Regions from separate parts of the Homo sapiens genome. Here region 2 is linked to region 1. Evidence: promoter capture Hi-C in 16 types of primary human blood cells and fetal thymus (Javierre and others, 2016). All regions are on one chromosome and are shown on one strand. The core of a region is centred on a gene start or on the middle of the fragment in contact, and the rest is flanking DNA. Distances in the headings are between cores, read along the strand shown.

Region 1 (3,962 bases), core at 562-3,061:
ACCCAGCTACATTTTTTTTTGGTAGAGACAGGGTCTCACTATGTTACCCAGTCTGGTCTCAAACTCCCGGCCTCAAGCAATCCTCCCACTGGCCTCACAATGTTGGGATTACAGGTATAAGCCACTGCACACGGCCTTACTATGCTATCAATTCCATATATGGAAAGGTGTTTTCCCTTTCAGAGCTCTTTAAAGCTCTGCAGAAGATTTACATGTGTTTATAGAGCTAAGAGAAATCAGGGCATGGAAATTGAGTGTGTAATAAAAATTAAACTCTTCATGTTATATAATCATGCATAACTTCTATCTTCATTCTCTGAAGTTGCCTAGAGCACCATCACAGCTAGGAAGCTTCCATCATGAATTACCTTATTTCCAAAAGCAAGTACTCAAATAATTGTCTCAAGAGAGGAAGGACAAAACTGTTACAAGCTGAAATATTTGGGGATTTGTTTGACTTGACTAGGGAACCACAAGTTTTCATATAATGCCTGATTTAGCCCTGTGCCTAACAGTTTAAATCTTAATGCTAATGTTAATTGCTTCCCAGTTGGTTGACCTTATAAGAAAACACTGTGTGGTATTTTAATGTGGTAAACATGTGAATGAAGGCCTGTGGCTCAGTTAATCACTCCCACAACTTTGAGCTGTGAGTTTTACTGGTGGAAGGAACTTTAACAGGTCTTCGCTCTTGTCATTAGATATCAAAGAACTGAAATTAGTTGGAATTGTAAGCAGTGAATAGATGTGTTGTTAGAATGATTCCATCACTTATACATTGTTTAAAATGCTAATAAAGTAACTTGCTTTGTAAGAATTCATTAGAGTGGACTTTTGTTATCTCCATTGTGCATTTGATAAAACTGAGGCTTAGAGAGGTAAGAGATTAGCTTTTAAGTCAGTAATTGGCAGCCGAGACAGCAACCCTAGGTCTGTTACATTCAAAAGCCTCTGAGCCACTCCGCATGACTTCCCATTCATTCGTGTTTGCTGCTGCTACTCTGGGAAACACCATCTTCCTCTTCCCCTCCACTCAGAAATTTAGCCCTAGATTAGCAGCGGTCTCTGCTCCCTCATGTTGAGAAAGGCCTGTTGTGCTGTCCGTGGGCAGAAGGGACCCCTTCAGAAAGCTATTCCTTATTGGGAATAGCGGCTTGAGATTTTGACTGCACGAATATTGCAGGACCTAATTTTAGTATTTAAGTTTTAGTTCTTAAATTCTTAAGTTTAGAGTTAGATACTCCAATACGGCCGTTTTCCAAAATACCGAGAGGGAATTAAATGAACATTTTTACATTAAGAATTTAATGTATTTCTGGGTGATGGGAAAATGAAAAAAACAATGTAAAGTCTGAATTACTGCGAGACGATAATCTGGCTCCACTGCAGCCAAAGTGGGCCCTTAAAACATAGAATCCATCCCTCCCAGCTCTGCCGGCCGTCTGTGCCTGCCCCCCACGTGTCCCACGTTCTGCACACCTGTAAATCTTGGGATGTAATCCCTTGCTCAGCGTCGGTCCGCCCTACTGTCGGCCAGCGCTCGGGGAAGGGGCGGGATTTGCAGTTGCGGGAATCCCAATTACTGTGTTCGCTGCTCAGGGCTCCTCATTCCCCTTTAGAGTAAAGGGCGAGGGCAACAGTGGACGGGGTGTCTCCAGACATCCCCCTCATTACCGTGGCCGCGGAAGCCGACTCGGCAGTTGCCGCCGCGGCTGTGGTGACTACCAGACGGGCCATAGGCGTGCGCACGCGCACCCGCACCGGCGCGCCGGCCGTCGGTCACGTGGCCTCCGGCCAGGGCTTGCGAAGCCGGAAGTGTCCTGAGTCTCGAGGAGGCCGCGGGAGCCCGCCGGCGGTGGCGCGGCGGAGACCCGGCTGGGTAAGTGAGACGGCCGCGGGCTGAGGGGCCAAGGCGGCGCGGGGCGCGGTCGGTCAGGCCTGCGCCGCCCGGCGGGGAGCGCTCCCGCCCCCTGTGGGAGGCTGGGATGCTGAGTCAGAGCGGGGGCGGGGGCGGGCGCACCGAGAAGCCCCGGACGACCCGAGGCCAAGCCATCCAGGACCCCGGCTGCGTGGACACTGCCTCTGGGGTGTGTGTCGGGTGGCCGTAGCCGGTGGAATGGTCGCGCGGGCCCTGTTACCTGCATCCCCGCTCCGCGCCGCGCGGCCGGTCCTCGACCTGCATCCCGTCCGGCGGCTTTGGGCATAAAGAGGACGACTCCGTTACCGGGCCTGGGCCCTGGCTGCCTGGGGAGGCAGGGGCACCTCTTTCCCTTAGACTCGCTGTTTTCTACCCTCTTTCCGAGCGTCGACACAACGGGCAGTTTTTAAATGTATTGATTTTTCAGAGGATTAAAAAGAGACGTTTCCTTAGAGTTTTAGTGATGTTCAGTCCGCAGAGGTTGACTCACACCGGAAATTAGAAGCATAAGATGTTTTAAATATATGCCGATGAAATACGAATTCCCAGACATTTCCTTGCTCCTCGTCTACCTGGCTTATGGGTTTAATTTGTAATCTCTATCCCAAGTATTCTTAGTAGGTGGCCTCAAAACAACTCCCAAGTAATTGCCAAATGTATAACCAAAGACTGGTCTTTTCCACTCTGAAACCCCAGTGTATGAATCACATAGGGGCAGAGTTTAGAAATCCTGGAACTTTGTCCATAGGCCATGTCGTCAAACCTGTTTTCATCCCTCAACAAATAGTAACTTTCGTTTTGGACGGTGTAAGGAAGTAGGCTGAAGACGGCATCATCAGCAACATAGTTGTTGAGTGTCTGCTTATATGCTTGTCAAAAATTTGGGAAGATTTATATGGCAAGCACGTTGTGGGTGTGCTGAGTCATGTTTTAACATGTTATTGTGGAGTTATTGGAAGATAATTTCAAAAGACATTTCCCCTGACCACTATTGTGATTACTGTTAAATAGAAACCATAGTTTTGTATTTGCATAGAGAACAGATATCTTAGCTGATAAATATTTTTCTTATTATCCTGAAGGTACATACATATAGGTACCTAATGGTACTATTTGCCATTTACAGTTACATTGATTAGGGAAGGTTTTTCGTTAGATAGTTGAGACGTTTGTTATTGTATCGTGAGTGAAATGTAATGACTGGCAAATGTGTATTCCTTATTTGTGAAAAGGGAATCTTATTTTTATTGCTTATTTCCTATAGTCGTATATAAAGTTTATCTAAATTAGATGGGTAGTAAAATTATATAAAAATATCCTACTATATCAGTGATTGGTAAAATTGAGACCCCTGACCATTCTGCATTTTCCTAACCCAGCTTGGGGATATTGGTGGTCATTAATTCATCACAGAATACCTAGTCTAGCATACTACTTTTTGCTTTAACTTACTGTGGAGGGATATTAAAATCCATGTTTTAATGACAATACAGCAGGTTTAAGGGGGCATGGTGGGACTAGTGTTTATGTTATGTTAGCATACATCAATTTTAGTCCAGTGTGGAGCTTGGATACTTTGTATACCTTGATAGATCCATAGCTTTTCAGTATTAAAGACTTGATAATACAGGCTACTTGGTACGTTTATATATTTATACTTGGAGGTTGGAGAAACTATCCTTAAATTAATTCCAGAAGAGTTCGTAACTTTTCAGGAATAATAATTTTTGCACCTTTCCTTTATGTTTGTCAGGTTCTGTGTAGATTGTGTAGATAAAATTTTAGCTTATGGGAATATTATGCAGTGACAACATTTGTCTTCATTAGTGTTTCTCTGCTCTGAAGGAAACAAAGTAATTTTTCCTATATTTGTTATATTTTACATTATTACTTTTCTTTATTTTAAAACACCTTAAATTATGTCATAAATTAATCTTTCAAAACATTTGAAGGAGGTAAGTAACAATATCACTCTCATCAACAAAGACAAAATTAGAAGAGAAATAGGTGTTGTTTTTGTTTGTTTTTGTTTCTTTTTGAGATG
Region 2 (3,962 bases), core at 980-3,479, 340 kb after region 1:
TGTTAAAAATGTAATATACCCATGGAAGCTTTGGAAAATACAGAAATGTAAAAGGAAGAGAAAAAATTATTTTTTAAAGACAGTCCCTTAGAATATTCAAGTGATGTTTTGTTGTTGTTGTTGTTTTGGTTTTGGTTTTTTGAGACAGTGTCTTGTTGTGTCACCCAGGCTGGAATGCAGTGGTGTGATCACAGTTCATTGCAACCTATGCCTCCTGGGCCCAAGTGATTCTCCCACGGCCTCCCGAGTAGTTGGGACTGCGGGTGTGTGCCACCACACCTGGCTAATTTGTGTGTGTGTGTGTGTTTGTGTGTGTGTATATATATATATGTTTTTTTTAATATTTTTGTAGAGATGGAGGCATGGAGGGGGTGGTGGGGGAAGGTCTTGCTATACTACTCAGGCTGGTCTCAAACTCCTGAGCTCAAGTGATCCTCCTGCTTCAGCCTCCCAAAGTGCTGGGATTATAAGGCGTAAGCTAACGTACTTGGCCTGTAGGAAGGTTTTAAATTATCGATCCAGCTTTTAAAATAACTACAGGATTATTTGTATCTTCTGTTTCTTCTTGTGTCATCCCTGGTGTATTATACAGAATTTGCCATAACTTTTCACATTTGCAGGCATAAAATTATTAAGAATATTTTGGGTGTTCCTTTAGTTTTTCAAGATGTTAAAACAATTTCACTGATTTTAAACAGGAATTCACTTACTACTTAAAATATCTTTTATTATAGAATGTATCATAAACAAGAGAATGTAATACATATATGTATTTTTTAAAGAATAAGTAAACAAAGGTGTATACATGTGGATATTCACCTGTCAAGCTTGAGTAACAAATATCACTGGCATGTTAAAAGCTCCCTGTGTGCTCCTTCCTGGCTGAAATCTCTCTCCCCCACATTTGTGTTAACCATTACCTTGCTTTTCTTTATACTTTCTCCACTTCCTGTATAGGTTCCTAAGCAATATATGGTTCTGAAAAACAGAGTAGCAAGCCCAAGCCTTGTTATGTGGGGAAAGGGTAATGTTGCTATCTTAGATAAAACCTTTCAGAAGATAAACTATACTGTCTCTGGGTCCCAACCTGGTTTTAGGTTCCCTTCTGGGGAAGTCAAAGGGCAAGGTTATAAACGAGCCCTGTGACTTCTGCCAGGCTATGCTTTAGGCTAGTTATTATTTATTTATTTATTTTTGAGATGGAATCTTGCTGTGTTGCCCAGGCCGGAGTGCAGTGGTGCGATGTTGGCTCACTGCAACCTCTGTCTCCCGAGTTCAAGCGATTTTCTTGCTTCAGCCTCCCCAAGTAGCAGGGATTACAGGTGTGTGCCACCACACCCAGCTAATTTTTTTTTAATTTTTAGTAGAGATGGGGTTTCACCATGTTGGCCAGGCTGGTCTTAAACCCATGACCTCAAATGATGCACCTGCCTTGGCCTCCCAAAGTGCTGGGATTACAGGCATGAACTACTATGCCCAGCCTAGGCTAGTTATGGAATAATCAACTAGGTTGGGGGAGAGGCTTGCTTTTTGTTTTTGATTCAAAGCTCAGCAAGGCCTTTCCATGCTCTCCCCTCCATGCCCACAGAAGTATTGTGCTTTGGCCTACTTCTAGGAGCAGGAGCAAGGCCATGGTGAGCTTTGAATAAAAAATAAAGAGCAAGCTCGCTGGGTGTGGGGTCTCACACCTGTAATCCTATTACTTTGGGAGGCTGAAGCAGGAGGGATTGCTTGAGCTTGCGAGTGGGAGACCAGCCTAGGCAACATAGTAAGACCTCATCACTAAAAAAAATAAACAAAAATTCGCTGGGCGTTGTGGCATGCATCTGTAGTCCCAGCTACTCGGGAGGCTGAGGCATGATAATCACATGAGCCTGGGAAGCAGAGGTTGCAGTGAGCTGAGATTGTGCCACTACCCTCCCACCTGGGTGACAGAGTGAGATACTGACTCAAAAAATAAAAAATAAAAATAGGCAGGGCGCAATGGCTCATGCGTGTAATCCCAGCACTTTGGGAGGCTGAGGCAAGAGGATCATGAAGTCAGGAGTTCAAGACCATCCTGGCCAACATGGTGAAACCCCGTCTCTACCAAAAATACAAAAAAAAAAAAAAAAAAGAATTAGCTGGGCGTGGTGGCACGCACCTGTAATCCCAGCTACTCTGGAGGCTGAGGCAGGAGAATTGCTTAAAACCTGGGAGGCGGAGGTTGCAATGAGCCAAGATTGCACCACTGCACTCCAGCCTGGGCAACAGAGCAAGACTCCATCTCTAAAAAACAAAAACACAAATAAAAACCACAAGTACAGATGAAAATATGGATGAGTTCTCCTGGGCATTCTGTCCTTCAGTTAGAAAGATGGTCCGGCAGCAGGAAGCCTCTTGTGTTGACTTCCCTCACACGACTGTTGATTGAGCCACGCTGCTCCACTCCCTACTGGCTGGGCTCCATCTGCATGCACTGCCATCCTGGGAGCCTCATTGTGGAGGCTTTCTTTGTCTCTCTCCTGTGGTGGATCTCTTGTATCCTGGATCTTATATTTCTTTCTTGATTATTCTTTTTATTTTGTTTCCCATATCCCCTTGAGAGAGAGTGCTTGTGAAGTAAGTTTTTGGTAACTGTGCACGGGTGAAAATGTCAAATGTCTTGATTCTAAATATATGCGCTTTGATCGACTATTCTATACTTGCTGTATTGCCTTCTCACTTGTCTTGTTGCTCTTGAGAAGGCTGAAGCCTTTCTGATGCCTGACACTTTATCCTGGACTGTTTATTTTTTTTCCCTTTAAGAGCTTGTGGACTGTTCTCCTTGTTCTTGGTGTTCCTGAAATACAACAATCATGTTGCTTGGAGTGGGTCTGTTTTCACTCAGGTCATTGTCACTGGGCCTAGACAGGCTCTTTCAATCAGGCAACTTTTGTCATTCAGTTCTGGAAATTTTCTCTGAATTATTTCTTTGTTGATTTTTCTCCCTCCTTTTTCTTTTTTCTTTTTCCTCTTTCTGGGGTTCTATTGTTTGGCTGTTGGAACTTATAGACAAGTTCTGTAATGTTCTTTCTTTTTTTTTTGAGACAGGGTCTCGTCTGTTGCCCATGTTGGAGTGCAGTGGTGCAATCGTGGCTCACTGCAGCCTTGACCTCCTGGGGCTCAGGTGATCCTCCCATGTCAGCTTCCTGAGTAGCTGGGAGGTGCACACTACCACATCTGGCTAATTTTTGTATTTTTTGTAGAGATGGGGTTTCAACCACATTGCCCAGGCTGATCTCAAACTCCTGGGCTCAATCAAGTGATCCCCCTATCTCGGCCTCCCAAAGTGCCAGGATTACAGGTGTGAGCCACTGCACCTGGCTGTAACGTTTTCTCTCTTTCTCGCTTTCCAACTCCTTGTTCTTTTGATTTATTTCCTTGGAGATTACCTCAACTTTATTTTCCAGTCCTGTTATTGAGAAATCTTTTTGGGTTGCTATTTGAATGTTTCTTTTATATGGTATCCTGTTCTTGTTTCATAGATGCAATATATTTTCTTATTGCTCTAAAGATATTATGATAGAGACTAAAACAGACAAAAGAAAACAATTTGGAAGAGATAAGATTATACAGGGAGGAAAGAAACTTTCAAAACTGTATTATATTTAGAAGCTTTCCTTAGATGTCTGGTATTCTTTGGCTGTCTGCTCATAAGTAAGTGTGGGAGTCTAAATGCTGACTTGAACTCTGGGCTCCCTGGCAGGGCTTATTGACTTTGAGCTTCATTGAAGTGCCATGTGGATGGGCCCTTTGTTGTGGAACCCCTCAGGTCAGTATCTTCAAGTCTTTCATCTGGGCTGGTCAGATTCTTCAAGGAAGAGTCTTCTGATCTCCTGCTCGAAGGGTGAAGGTCTGGCTGCTGGTATTTTGGGAGCCGAGTGGGGTGAAGAGAGCTGGGAGTCTCTGCATTCAGTATGCATATGGCCACTGAGTCCCTG

The links. Contacts are between HindIII fragments. The CHiCAGO score rates a contact against its expected background, and 5 or more counts as called.
Region 2: a contact is called between a fragment that was not itself captured here and the fragment with the promoter of TBK1 in region 1, in 3 of 17 cell types (non-activated CD4 T cells, total CD8 T cells and neutrophils). The highest score is 9.4, in non-activated CD4 T cells.

The regions. Positions count from the first base shown.
Region 1 is chr12:64,450,309-64,454,270 of GRCh38, forward strand. TBK1 (TANK binding kinase 1) reads left to right here and starts at 1,812. Exons shown (of 21, transcript NM_013254.4): 1 at 1,812-1,879. It overlaps XPOT (exportin for tRNA), which reads left to right. Exons shown (of 25, transcript NM_007235.6): 25 at 1-817. RefSeq lists a silencer at 1,683-2,152. The HindIII fragment of the contact is 9,573 bases long and covers 350-3,962 here.
Region 2 is chr12:64,791,392-64,795,353 of GRCh38, forward strand. It overlaps a transcript of TBC1D30 not described here. Among named protein-coding and RNA genes, the nearest start is that of TBC1D30, 31 kb to the right of the region's middle. The HindIII fragment of the contact is 2,809 bases long and covers 826-3,634 here.